Regions from separate parts of the Homo sapiens genome. Here all the other regions are linked to region 2. The links are contacts of gene promoters, found by promoter capture Hi-C in blood cells and fetal thymus (Javierre and others, 2016). All regions are on one chromosome and are shown on one strand. Each heading gives the region's core, a stretch centred on a gene start or on the middle of the fragment in contact. The rest is flanking DNA. Distances are from core to core; before and after follow the strand shown. Region 1 overlaps AGRN (agrin). Region 2 holds the start of ACAP3 (ArfGAP with coiled-coil, ankyrin repeat and PH domains 3). Region 3 holds the start of NOC2L (NOC2 like nucleolar associated transcriptional repressor).

Region 1 (4,384 bases), core at 387-2,886, 270 kb after region 2:
AGAGAAGAGACAGACGCAGAGAGAAAGACCAGAAGATGGGCGAACTGACCAAGACGAACACGACGGGACACGACGGCCACTGCCTCCCCCTGGCCCTTCAAGTCCTGACACTGCCTCCAAAACGGCCGACGGCTGCCCATGTCCCAAGAGTGAGGACCCTGGTGTTGTGTCCAGCCTGCCCACCCCAACAGCCTGTGCTTACAGCGTGGAGACATGCGGACAGGCCAGAGGACTCCCAGGGAGGGCGTGGCTGAGGTCAGGGACCAGGGAGCCTGGACAAGGCCCCGCCTCTGCCTCACCAGCCCCCAGGTATCCAGGTACCCTCCGCACACAGGCTCCACCCTCCCCAGAGCCTTCCCAGAGGGACCGGCCCACTCCCAGGACCCCAAGAGGAACATGATGGATGAAGATGGCATGTGATGTCCAGGCAGGGACTGACGCAGGAGCAGCCCACCCCGCCTGGCCTCCACCCCGGGGCGCTCACCACACGGGCCCTGGTGCTTGCTGGGGATGGCACGCTGCTGCCGGCACTCAGCCTGCTGCCGCCAGCAATCACTGTCATACGTGCGCCCGTCCTGGGCACACACGGGCCTGTAGGCCCCGTCACAGGTGACGCGGTCGCAGGAGCAGCGGGGACGGCCACGGCGGGACAGGCACACGGCATTGAACCGGCAGGGCTCCGGGCACTGGTCTAGGACGCAGGGGTGAGGGAGTCACGGAGAGGCTGGAGCACCCTCCATCCCTGCCCTGGGATGTGCAGGGAGCAGGGGAGCAGGCGGCCCTCCCAGAGGGGAGCCGCCCACCTCGACCCTGGCACTGGCCGCAGCCCTCCCCCGGGGGAGCCGCCCACCTCGACCCTGGCACTGGCCGGAGCCCTCCCCCGGGGGAGCCGCCCACCTCGACCCTGGCACTGGCCGGAGCCCTCCCCCGGGGGAGCCGCTCACCTCGACCCTGGCACTGGCCGGAGCGCACTTTCTGCAGGAGGAGACCCCGGGCGGCCCCCGATCGGCCCATGACACAGTCGTTTTCGTAGGTGACTCCGTCGTCCCCACACACTGGCGCCTGCCGGGCAGGGCAGCTCTCGGGCCGTAGGAGCATCTCAGGGCGCCGCGTGCGCGGGTTCACACGGCAGCTGCGGCTCGGGTCAGGGAGGGCGCCCTGACAGGGGTCTGGGGGTCGAGGGCAGGAGTCAGGACGCTGTCGCCGCGCGCCCACAGAGCTCGAGCCGTGCGCCCGCCGCCGCGCTCACCACAAGGGCCGTCGAACTTCTTGAAGACATTCTCCTGGCGGGCGCAGGCGCGGCGCAGGAGCTGGCACTCGCCGGGGTAGTCGGCGCCGTCGCTGCCGCAGACGGTCCCCTCGGGGGCGCCACGGCAGGTCGCGGGGCACAGGCACGAGGCCGTCAGCCCGTCGGCCGAGCGCGCACAGGTGCTGCCGAAGCTGCAGGTCACGTTGGAGCAGGGGTCCCGCGAGCCTGCGGGCGGGGCTTTGCCGGTCAGACGGGCCGCCCCCGCCCCCGCTCCCGCCCCGCTCCCGCCCCGCTCCGCCCCCCAGGCCCCTCCCAGCCCCGCTCCTCCCCGCCGGGCCCCGCAGGCCCCGCCCCCGCTCCCGCCCCGCTCCGCCCCCCAGGCCCCTCCCAGCCCCGCTCCTCCCCGCCGGGCCCCGCCCCTGCCCCCGCCCCACTGGCCCCGAAGCCCCTCCCAGCCTCGCTCCATCTCATAGGCCCCGCCCCTCCCCGCCCCAGGCACCGGCCCCGCCCCGCTCACCGCACGGCCCGCGGCTGAGCAGGCGGATGCGGCGCTGCTGGCTGCACTGCGCCCGCTGCAGCTCGCATTCGTTGCTGTAGGTGGAGGCGTCCGACCCACACACAGGCGCCACCACGCTGGGGCACGGGCTCTTCTTGCAGACGCAGGACGCCCGGCCCGGCCCCTCCGCGTTGGGCTCGCACACGGCGCCGAAGCCGCACAGCATTCCCCGGCACGCTGGGGCGGGTAGGGGAGAAAGCTCAGGGTGCCGAGACGCCCGTACCCACGTCCACAAGCCTGAGAGACCTTGCCGTGCTCGCAGCCCGCGCATTCACCCGCCCCCGCGCCGCATCGGGGGTCCACCACGGACACGGACACGCGTGCGTGCGCTCACAGGACCGGCCCTGCCCCTCGCAGACCCCGCCCGCCGAGGATTCCCGCCAGCCCCGGGCCTCTCCAGGGATGACCTTTCTCCCCCACCCCGCACCTGCAGGCGCGGAGAGGGGCGTCTGCCGCAGGCGGCACCCGACTCTGTTTCTGCGACGGGCGAGCACCCACTTCCCACCCACCTCGTGGGCCTCCAGCGAAAAGCAGAGACGCCTCGAAACCAACTCGGGCACAAGCAGTCCAGGCCCCAGTTCTGCTCAGGAGCTCCTTCCACATCGGCACCGGAGCCCCTCACCGATTCACCCCATGGAGCCGGGGGAGCCCCTTCCCGCGCTGCTGCAGCGTCCAGCACAGCTGAGCCCTGCCGCCTCCCGCCCGGGTCGCACCCAGGTCCCGCGTCTGGCCCTCAGGGGCCTGAGAGCCCCACCGGGACGGGGTGTGAGGCCAGGTCACAGCTCTGGCCCACCTCTGGCGCCTCCCTGACCGCTCCCTGCGCCTAAGATGGGTGGGGAATCTTCTTGCCTCCCTCTCCCCAACTCTTCCCCAGCTTCCCTGGAGAAGTGCAAATTCCTGGCCTCCGCCTCTACTATCTCCTATTCTCCCTGGCCAGCCCCCCACCCGCGGCAGGCCTGTGCCCTTCTGCAGCCTCCCATCGCTCCCTGGGATCCCTGGGGCACCCACACGCCCCCTCCTCCCTGGGCATCCCCCGGCCCCCCACCTCACTCTTGCCTCCTCCATCGCCCTCACTCTCTGTCAAAGCGAACTTCCTTCTTGGAGAGGTGCAGGAACTGTTGCTCATTTTAGTTCTTACAGCTGCAGACCACAGCGCCTGACACACGTCCCATCACCAGACCTCAACGTGGCCAACAAAGCTGCCTCAGGCACGTTAAAACCCAGAGCCCCTGCGGCAGCCCATCCTGAGCACCCCCACCCCCAGCATGGCCCACCCAGGATCAGGGAAGGGTCCGTTAGCGGCTGCAGCTGTCTGGATTTAATAAATGTTTAATTGGGTCCAATTATCATTAATAAGTCATGTCAGAGGGGTGGCTACCACCCATCACTTCCCAGCAGGCTCGTGAAATGGGGCAGGAGGAACCCCCCCCATCTCCAAGGAGGGTGGGTGCACTGGGAGCTGGAGCCAGCTGTTGCTATAGCAACAGCCCACCCCAGGCTCTGGCGCTGTCTGTCTGGGTGTCCCTGCCCCCACCCCAGAAGGCTGAGTGAGGGCCATCCGCCTGCCATCCCTGCAACCTACCCATGCTCCCCCCACCAGATCCCTGTCTTCCTCCCCAAACCTTGGCTGTGCCCCCACCCCTCTTCTGCTACTCTCCCACCTCAGGTCTTACAGCCAGGCTGCTCAGCTCTGCATTACCCACTGTGAGAATGTGGGCAGGTTATCACCTGCCTGGGCCTCAGTATCCCCTTCGGTGAATAGGAGCAATAGGACCTACCTCCCAGGATTGTGGGGTTAAATGGGCCAGTATCTGCAAAGCTTAGAGGGTGCCCAGCACACAGCGCTATGTGGCCCGTCTGCTGCCACTGTAAGTATAGTCATGAGGGCTGTCATCACCACTGGCCTTCCCCCGTCCTGGCTCAAATCAAACTCAAACCACATGCACCCCTGGCCCTTTCACTTCCCTTCTGGTTCCCCTTCTCTCTCCCCTCAGCATCTCCCTCTCCCTTTGGCCCTGCCTTGTCCAAGGCCCTGGGACTCCCAGTCCAAATCCAACGGGCACCTGCTGATGCCCAGCCAGCTGTTCTCCTGGGCTTCGGCTGGACCTGTGGACCAATGGTTCCCCCCAGGTCCCAACCCCATGGCCAAGGACCCAGTCACCTCCCTGCACCAGGGCTCCTGAGCCTTTCTCCCCTTTTGGTCACCTTGGCTCAGCCAGACCTCTCCCAAGGCCCTGACACCATGGCCAAGGGCACTGTTCCTGGATGGCGGGCATGCTCCTCATCCACCAGGACCCGCAGCTCCCTCCATAGTCCAGCCCGAGGTCCTGCTACGTCCCAAGACAGAGCCTTGGGGAAGAAGGTGATGATGGCAGCTCACCAGGGTGAGCGGGGCTGGACTGCTTGCAGGGGCATGGAGAGCAAGCTCTGGGATGGGAGCCTAGAGGTACCTTAGGGACAGGCTCTGAGTGACCAGCTGCTGGACCAATGTGGCAGGGCAGTGGAGAGACCTTGGGTACCTGGCGGGACCTTGAAGCCAGGCTGAGCACTGGCTCCCCATCCCCATCTGGTGTGCAGGG
Region 2 (4,106 bases), core at 382-2,881:
GCTCATCACGCCGGTGACAGCCAGTGGCCAGGCGGTACAGGTAGGTCCGGGACGTGGCTGCGTGACGAGCGTGGAAGTCGCTGGGCACTCGGAAGGCCCGCAGGACCCTATGGCGGCAGGTAAAGCTCACCGGAGGAACGACCCCGCCCGCCCGCGGTGTCACATTGGCTCTCCTTCCCCCTCGAGCTCCGACCAGACAAGGAAGTCTGTCCAGATCTCCAGCCTCCGCCCGCGACAGATGGAGTCGGGAAGGCACAGCCCCAGGGCTGCTTAGGTCGCGGGCTCACCTGATGGCCGGGTGCCGCAGGTGTGTGTTGAGGGCCTCGGCCAGGACCTCGGGCGGGAAGGGCGGCCGGCCTGAGCGGCGCTGGACGTCCAGGTGCGCCGCGTTGCTCAGGGCGTGGACCCCGGCGTCCGTGCGGCTGGAGATGGTGAACCTGACCGGCTCCACGGAATTCAGCCGCTCGGCGGCCTCCTGCAGGACCGAGCCGCGGGGCGGGCGGGTGAGCGAGGCCGGACCCCGGGGACGCGCGGGCGGGAGCCTCCCCCTTACCCCTCACCGGGCGTCCCGTGACCGGCTGAGCGCACCTCCAGGTAGTTCTGGACCCCGACGGCGCGCTGAGTGCCCCTGACGGCCGCGACCCCGCTGCGGGCAGAAGCGGGCGGAGGTTACCGGGGGCGCCCTGCCCTGGGGTCTCCGCCGCCGTCTGAGGCCAGGGCCGCTTCCTTCCCCGAACGTTTGGAACCCGCGTCCAGAGACATCCGCCTGCCCGCCCGCGCCCTCCTTCCCGCCTCCGCCCGGGCCCACGTGGCGCCCGCCGCTGCGCCTGGGAAACCTACTTAAAGTCGGTGCCCACGTACTGGAAGTACACAAGATAGCGCGCGCGCACGGAGCCTGAGGCCGGCGCCGAACTCATGGCGGAGCCCAGCCGGTGGCGTCAGAGGCGGCCTCCAGCGCAGGAATCCTGCGCGCGCGCGGACGCGGCCTGGTCACGCCCCCCCCCCCTCCCCCCCGGCCCCGGCCGCTCTTGCGCCTGCGCGGTGGCACCGCGCCACGGCGGCCAGAGTCGGGGAGCGGAGGCGGGGCCGGGCTTAGGGAGCGGCTGCAAAGTGCCGGCCCGCCGCCGAGCGCAGGCGCTCTACCTCTATCGCGGCGCCCCGGGAGGCGCGCACCAACCACGCGGTCACCCCGCGCTCTCGCGGGCGTGCATTCGTTCACTCGCTCATTCATTCGCCGCCGCCCACACTCCCCGAGCGCGCCCGTTCGCCGCGTTGCGGCCAAGTCCTCCCAGACGTGGTTTTTGCAAACGCCCTGAGTTGCGCAACGGCCGGGATGGTTGGAGCGGGCGGGCCCGCGCCCTCCCCGCGCCCTCCCCGCGCCCCACATTTCCACCGACTGTCCCCGGAGACGGCCGTGGCAGGCCCCGCCTCACTTCCGGACCGGGGTGGTCCCTGGACGCTGCGAGAGGCGTTTGGCGACGCTCCCCGGCGGTGACAGCGGGCGGCGCGCGCGGGCGGCGGACCTTGGCGACGCTCCCCGGCAGTGACAGCGGGCGGTGCGCGCGGGCGGCTGACTTTGGCGACGCTCCCCGGCGGTGACAGGCGGGGCGGGGCGCGGCGCGGCGGCCTCATTCCGGGGCGGGCGGGCGCCGAGGCGGCGCGGGCGGGACGAGCGGTCCGGGCCGGCGCGGCTGCCGCTCGGCGCCGCGGTCCTCGTGCCAGTGAGCGCCGCGGCCGCCGCAGCCATGACCGTGGAGTTCGAGGAGTGCGTCAAGGACTCCCCGCGCTTCAGGTGCGCCGCCCGGGGCCGCCGGGGTGGGCGCAGGCCGGGGGCGTCGCTGTCGCCTTTGTGCCCGGCGGCGGGGTGGGGAGGTCAGCGCCGGGCCGGGCCGCGGCCGCCGGGGAGGGGCTGGAGGACCGGCCTCGGACAAAGCGGCGGCCCCGCCCCGCCATGCCCCGGGGGTTGGAACAAAAGACGCTCCTGCCCTGTGCGGCCGCCCCGGGTGGAGGGCGTGCGCGTGGGCAGCCGTGGGCACCTCGGGACCGTCCGCCCCCGCTCTGTGTCTGCACCTCCACTGGGCTGAGCCCCTCCCGGGCCCTGCAGTCCAGCTCTGGCCAGGGTCGTCTGGGTCCGTGGGGGCGTCGGCCCCTGGTCTCTGACTTGATCCTGTGTCCAGAGCAGCGCGTGGGGAACAGGCAGCTGGAGCCGCGTTTAAGGCCTGGGGTAGGGTGCTTGGAAACGTGAAGTGGTTTGAATGACCCAGGGGCTTGGAGGGGTGGCGGCCGAGAAGAGCGGCGGGGAAGGTCAGGTAGGGGGTAGGGGTTGTGTGCACACCGAGTCTGCATGTTTTCCATCATTCGTGGCGTGCAGGCGTGTACACCTGCGTGAACTACATGTTCACAGACGTGTGCACAAGTGTGCATCGGCTTTGCTTGGTGGACATTTGGCAAACGACAATGGAGGCAAAGAAACCTCTCTGCATCCCCAAGTGCGCACCTGCGTGAGGCCCCCTCCTCTGCACGAGCTCGTGCGGGGTGCGCTCTTGTGAACTTTGCCCCTCTGCGTGCCTCCCTCCGGACACCAGGCCTTGCACAGGACGTGTGGATGAGCTGTGCCACGGGGCTGTGCTTGCTTCTGCATGTAGCCTGCCGATGAGTGCACGCAAGCGTGTGCACACACCACCTGTCTGTGTGGGTTCACGTACTGTGTTAGCCATGTCAGCAATAGACACATCACCTTGTACACGCGTGTTCCATCACTAGGTACACATGTTGATGCGTGTCTGTGCAGTGTCTCCTTGAACACACATGTATGTGTGGTACCAGTGTGTGCAGGCATGTTTGTGCATGAACATGTTTGCACATGTGTGCTTGATTGTGTATGTGTGGGTGTGCACGCGCGCGCTGGGTCTCTTGGGATCTGCTGGCAAGTCAGCATGTGTGTGGAGGCACGGGGAGCCTCTGTATCCCTGGAGCCCTCACCAGGAGGCTCAGGAGCCTTGGAGTGGGAGGCTCAGGGCCAGCCAGGAGAGTGGCCGCCAGCCCTGGGCAGAGGAACTGGGGCCATCCTCTGCTCTCCCATCTTCTGTTGCTGACCTGGGAAAAGGGGTTGAATAACTTGAGCACCCTAGGATCCTGCATTGAGGACCCGGGCTGTGGGGAGGTGTGGGCATGGCCTCCCTGCTGGGGGCTGGACCCTGGCTGAAGCACCCACCTTCTCCCTGGCCCCTCCGTCAGAAGCCTAATGGACCTCCTCCTCCACGCAGACGGCCCTGTACTGCCCTCTTCCAGTCGTGTGGGGGTGCTGGAACCCACTCACCTCTGGGCCTTCTCTCTGGTAACCGGCTCTCATGGGAGCCTGTTACAGGAGCCAGTTATGGGGGCTGTGGGGCTGCAGTAGGTGCCGTAGAGTGACTGCCCTGGGAAAGTGCCTCACCCCTGTGGGGCATGGACTGGAGTGGGGAGATGAGAATGGCCTGGCCCAGTGGGTTTTGGGGTTAGGCTGTGATTTAACTGGGGTTCGAGGGGCTCCCTGAGGCTGTCCTGGGGGCAGGCCCTAAGGGCGTAACTTGAGTTTCCTGGCCTACCGCCAGGTTGGGGGGCCAGGCAGGGTGGGCGGGAAGATGTGGTCTGTAACGTGGAGCCTGGTCGCCCCAGCCCGGGAGAGGGGGACCCTGCCCGCACCCTCCTGGTCTGGGGAGGGCCTAGTGGCAGCCCAGGTGCAGTGGGCCGGAGGCCAGGGGAGCCCGTGTAGGGGAACCGCCTGGCCTCTGTTCAGTGTGCCCCTCCCCTGGGTGGGGCTTCAGGCGCTGAGTCATGGCTTTGGTTGGGGGGCAGCCTCACCCTCCTCCCCGTCCTCCAAGCTGCTGAGGAAATCCTGGGCTGAGCACAGCAGAGGAGGCCTAGGTCCCCAGGACTGAGGAAGGGAGAGCTGAGGGGCTCCCAGCAGTGGGAGCGGCTCTCGGGGCCTCTGCCAGGGCCCACCCTGTCCCCATGAGCACGTCCGTGAGCTCCTGGGTGCAGCCATCCCCCCTTGCTGGCTCTCCAGGGACACGGGCGCCCCAAACCCGAGGGCGGCAGCTCTGGGTGCAGCTGTCTCTGCATCC
Region 3 (4,714 bases), core at 530-3,029, 350 kb after region 2:
GAGCTCAGCTCCTCCGCGTCCCTAGCCGCCCTCTCGGGACCGCAGCGGGAGTCGCGTCCTGGGCGCGCGGGGCGCGGGTGGGGAACCTACTCCGGGCCGACCCCGCTCCGCACCTGAGTCCCGACCTCCCCCGGCCCTCGGAAGCGGCCCCCGCCCCTTCTGCGAGCGGACGCGAGGGCGGGGGCCGCGCAGGTCCCGAGGCCGCCCCCCGCGCCCCGACCCCCGCCCACTCACGCCGGCGGCTGCGGCGGTGGAGGCGGCGGCGCCTCGGGCCCGGGCCCCGGGCTGCCGTGCTCCGGGCTCTGCGTCCTGCCGGCCGGGCGCTCGCTGCGGGGCTGCATTCGGCTGCCGGACCCACCGCCGATTCGCGGAGGACCCGCGGGCTTAACGGACGCGGAGACTGCCGGAGGGCTGCTCGGCGGTGGCGGCCCGCTCTGTGTCGCTCACTCCCGCCGCTCCCGCCCGCAGCCGCTGTTTCTCGGCGCCGCCCGCCCCGCCTCCCGAGAGGCTTCGGGGACTAGACGTTGGACGCGGATTCTTCCAGCGCTGCGCCCCGGGTCCGCCTCCTCCTCCGAGAAGCACCCCCAGACCCCGCCATCCTCCTCCTCCGGGAAGCCCCCCACCAGGCCTCGCCCTCCTCCTCCTCCGAGAAGCCCCCCTAGGCCTCGCCATCTTCCTTCTCCGAGAAGCCCCCCAGGCCCCGCCATCCTCCTCCTCTGGGAAGCCCCCGGCCTAGCCCTCCTCCTCCTCCTCCTCCGGGAAGCCCCCCTAGGTCTCGCCTTCCTTCTTCCCCGGGAAGCCCCCCACAGGCCTCGCCCTCCTGTTTCTCCGAAGAGCCCTCCTAAGCCTCGCCCTCCTCCTCCTCCAAGGAGCCCCCCTAAGCCTCGCCCTCTTCCTCCTCCGAGGAGCCCCCCAGGCCTCGCCCTCCTCCTCCCCCGGAAGCCATCCCCGCTCCCCCGACCCCCTAACTTGCTCTCCTCCGGGGAGCCCCGGGGCCCCGCGGCACCAAGAAGTCGAATGGGACCCCGAGGCCAATCCGCCCGTGTTCGCCTCACGCGCCCCCTCAGCGCCAGGGCTGGGGGAGCCGTGCCTGCGCCCCGCGGCGCCCTTGTCGCGGGGTCTGGCTGTCCAGGCCCGGGGGCCCGGGTGTCAGGCTGGTAGCGGGAAGGAAGGCGCCGGCCTCCCCACCGTCTTCGTCCCGTGCGGCGTCCCCGGGAAGAGCCGCGGTCGGCACCCAGAGGGCCATGGACGGGGAGCGCCCTGCGTGGTGTTCGTGGCGCTGGCCCGGTCTCCGCGGATCGGAGGCGAAGCCAGCCTGGCCCTCGGGTCGCCCGTCTTTTGTCGAGCTGGCGACATCAGTGCGGTTCCCACTGCCCCTCGCGTTTTCCACTGGACTCCCTGCTTTTTATTGTTGATTTGTGGGAGCTCTTTGCATAGGAGCCCCGCCGTTGCAGTCTGGCGTCCTCGCAGGCGCGTGCCTTCGGAGCGCCGGGTGGGCTGCGGGCGCGGCGGGACTCCCGGTCTTCCCCGGGGCGGACACCGGCGTCACCGCGTCCTACGGAGCCGGGCGCCGAGCGGGAGGCGCATCTGGGCCCCACCGGGGCTGCCCGCACCGAGCACGCGAACGCGCCCTCCCGCCCTGAGGCCGCCGGCGTTGCGGTCGGAGAACCATAGAGCCACTCGGCTGGGCGTGGCGCGGCGGGGCGGGGAAAGGGGCGGGGCCTGGGCGGCGGAAGTGCGCAGCCGCGCGGCATTCTGGGGCCGGAAGTGGGGTGCACGCTTCGGGTTGGTGTCATGGCAGCTGCGGGGAGCCGCAAGAGGTAAGCCGCGGGTCCGAGGGCCGATTTGGCCTCCCGGTGGGTGTCTGTATCCAAGGGGGCTTTTCTTGCTCCTCTCAGCGGGGCTGGGGCGAGCTGGGCGTGCGGGCAGCTGTGACTCCTGCGTGACCCGCAGGCGCCTGGCGGAGCTGACGGTGGACGAGTTCCTAGCTTCGGGCTTTGACTCCGAGTCCGAATCCGAGTCCGAAAATTCTCCACAAGCGGAGACACGGGAAGCACGCGAGGCTGCCCGGAGTCCGGATAAGCCGGGCGGGAGCCCCTCGGCCAGGTTAGTGGGGACATGCGTGAGCAGAACCTCTTGCTCGTCCTGTCCCACCCCGGTTGGGTTGCTGACCTCGCCTGGGGTCTCAGGGCCAAGGCCTAAGGATCGCCGACCTCTGCCCCCCAGTCCTTTCAGCTTAACTTACTCTTTCATCCGATGTTTACTGAGCTCCTGTTCCGTGCCAAACTCTGTCCTAGGCAGGGAGCGTATGTTGGTGAGTTGTGCAAAAATCTCTTCCCGATCTAGGAGAACTCTCACGTTCTTGGGTGAAATCACCGCCTGCAGTTCGGTAGAAGAGAGATAAGTGCTGGGGAGGGAAAGGAAGGACAGAGGGGCTGAAGAGAGAGTTGCAGGGGAGCCGAGTTGCTCTGTTAGAAGGAGCGGAGGCTGTGCTCGGTGGCTCACGCCTGTAATGCCAGCACTTTGGGAGGCCGAGGCGGGCAGATTACCTGAGGTCAGGAATTCGAGACCAGCCTGACCAACACGGAAAAATCATGTCTCTACTAAAAATATAAAAATTAGCCGGGCGTGGTGGGCACCTGTAATCCCAACTACTCGGGAGGCTGAGGCAGGAGAATCGCTTGAACTTGGGAGGCGGAGGTTGCAGTGAGCCGAGATGGCACCATTGCATTCCAGCCTGGGTGAGAGAGTGAGACTCCATCTCAAAAAGAAAAAGAAAGAAATCAAAAGATACAAAAATTAGCCTGGCGTGGTGACACACACCTGTCGTCCCAGCTACTCGGGAGGCTGAGGCAGGAGAATCGCTTGAACCCGGGAGGCGGAGGTTGCGGTGAGTGGAGATTGCGCCACTGCACTCCAGCCTGGGCGACAGAGTGAGATTCCGCCTCAGGAGAAAAAAAAAAAAAAAAAAAAGCGGAGGTGGTTGTTTGAGAAGATGACGTCTGAATAAAGACCTCGAACAAGGAGGCCACACAGACAGTAGGGGAAACGTGTCTTAGGATTTCAGGCAGCAGAAAACAGCAAAAGCCTTGCAGTGGGAGCATTTGGGGAGAGTACAGAGGTAAACGTGGCTACGGCAGGAGTGAGGGGGTGAATAGGGGTAGATGAGCCCAGAAGGGTGATGAAGAGCCAGGTGCCGTAGACCGTCATAAGATTGCCTCGTAAAACAGGGAGTTACTTCTGGGTTTGAGCGGTGGAGTGCCTTGTAGGTGACAAGGGTGGAAACAGAGAGACCTTTAGGTTAACTGAGAATTGAACTATGTGGTGGTTTGAGAGGAGGCACGAACGGTTTTGAAGGTGTTGCTGATGAGATCTGATGACAAGTTGCGTGCTGGGTATTAGAGACAGAGATTTGCCTTTAGTCTGAGCCTCTGGAAGGGTGAAGCCACCATCAGGCAAAAGTAGCGCAGGGCACAGGCACAGCAAGTCCAGGGAAGACCGCGGCTGGGGGCCTGTGTAGCGCAGGGCGCAGGCACAGCAAGTCCAGGGAAGACCGCGGCTGGGGGGCCTGTGTAGTGTGTTTGAGGGTATGTTGTAGAGGTTGTTGGGTAGGAGACGTGAGTCTGCCAAAAACGTACCTCCTGGCAATCCTGTCTTGCTAGTTGGTAACCCTTGTGAAGGGAGTAGACTGACCCTGTAGGCCACTCCCCGCCCCCTCTACTTCCACTTCCCACTGGGGTCGCTGACTTCTGCCTCCTCAGCCGGCGTAAAGGCCGTGCCTCTGAGCACAAAGACCAGCTCTCTCGGCTGAAGGACAGAGACCCCGAGTTCTACAAGTTCCTGCAGGAGAATGACCAGAGCCTGCTAAACTTCAGCGACTCGGACAGCTCTGAGGAGGAAGAGGGGCCGTTCCACTCCCTGCCAGATGTGCTGGAGGTGAGGGCGTGGGCCAAACCAGAAGGGGGGCACTTGTCTCTACACTCTCCTTCAGCTCAGCCTTTCTGTGCAGGAAGCCAGTGAGGAGGAGGATGGAGCGGAGGAAGGAGAAGATGGGGACAGAGTCCCCAGAGGGCTGAAGGGGAAGAAGAATTCTGTTCCTGTGACCGTCGCCATGGTTGAGAGATGGAAGCAGGCAGCAAAGGTGAGCAGCAGCCAGGGGCGGGCAGCTGGGTGCCCAGGCAGAAATCTGGCCTTGCCTCACCTGAGGTGAGCAGCAGCGAGGGGCGGGCAGCTGGGTGCCCAGGCAGAGATCTGGCCTTGCCTCACCTGAGGCGCCTGAGGCTGTGCTGGTGGGAGGGGCTGTTCTCCACGCAGGGGACGCTTGGAGCCTTCTTCAGCGCAAGTGACAACACGTTGCTCCTCCTGCTTGCTTGGTTGCCCCAGGACTGTGTGTTCACTTTTGGGTAGATTCCAGGGGCTCTGTTGGCGCCCCACTCCCCAAAGTCAGTCCCGCTGTGGGTGGGACGGACTGTGCCTTTGTTGGTTGGTGGAGCTGGGGTCCTTCTGAGCCTCTCACAGTGTTTTTTTCCAGGGACAAGGATACGGAGAGCTCCAGATACCACCTGGAGGTGGCCATAGTCCAGGATCTGGAACTCCCAGTCCTTTTCCTGGGGCTCCTGAGCCAGACTCCCTCCTCTTCCCAGAGAATTCTAGACTTTGTTTCCATTTTTGTTATCAGTATGGGGCTCTGTGCCTCCCCCCAACCTCTGCCCTA

What was found. Contacts are between HindIII fragments. The CHiCAGO score rates a contact against its expected background, and 5 or more counts as called.
Region 1: a contact is called between a fragment that was not itself captured here and the fragment with the promoter of ACAP3 in region 2, in 15 of 17 cell types (M0 macrophages, erythroblasts, naive CD4 T cells and 12 more). The highest score is 11.9, in M0 macrophages.
Region 3: a contact is called between the fragment with the promoter of NOC2L here and the fragment with the promoter of ACAP3 in region 2, in 3 of 17 cell types (naive CD4 T cells, total CD4 T cells and activated CD4 T cells). The highest score is 6.4, in naive CD4 T cells.

What each region holds. Positions count from the first base shown.
Region 1 is chr1:1,038,263-1,042,646 of GRCh38, reverse strand. AGRN (agrin) reads right to left here. Exons shown (of 36, transcript NM_198576.4): 4 at 1,767-1,982; 5 at 1,250-1,474; 6 at 945-1,169; 7 at 485-691. Among named protein-coding and RNA genes, the nearest start is that of AGRN, 20 kb to the right of the region's middle. RefSeq lists a silencer at 1,658-1,867 and an enhancer at 2,423-3,101. The HindIII fragment of the contact is 3,981 bases long and covers 1-3,626 here.
Region 2 is chr1:1,305,455-1,309,560 of GRCh38, reverse strand. It overlaps ACAP3 (ArfGAP with coiled-coil, ankyrin repeat and PH domains 3), which reads left to right and starts at 1,631. Exons shown (of 24, transcript NM_030649.3): 1 at 1,631-1,792. The coding sequence starts at 1,746. It overlaps PUSL1 (pseudouridine synthase like 1), which reads right to left and starts at 964. Exons shown (of 8, transcript NM_153339.3): 1 at 841-964; 2 at 589-646; 3 at 288-475; 4 at 1-107. The coding sequence starts at 917. RefSeq lists silencers at 323-452, 463-602, 633-702, 923-1,602, 1,643-1,812 and 2 more. The HindIII fragment of the contact is 38,674 bases long and covers 1-4,106 here.
Region 3 is chr1:956,321-961,034 of GRCh38, reverse strand. NOC2L (NOC2 like nucleolar associated transcriptional repressor) reads left to right here and starts at 1,779. Exons shown (of 19, transcript NM_015658.4): 1 at 1,779-1,820; 2 at 1,954-2,106; 3 at 3,762-3,936; 4 at 4,010-4,141. The coding sequence starts at 1,795. It overlaps KLHL17 (kelch like family member 17), which reads right to left and starts at 451. Exons shown (of 12, transcript NM_198317.3): 1 at 235-451. The coding sequence starts at 341. RefSeq lists silencers at 1-227, 248-557, 1,516-1,775 and enhancers at 1,886-1,995, 1,654-2,511. The HindIII fragment of the contact is 14,217 bases long and covers 1-4,714 here.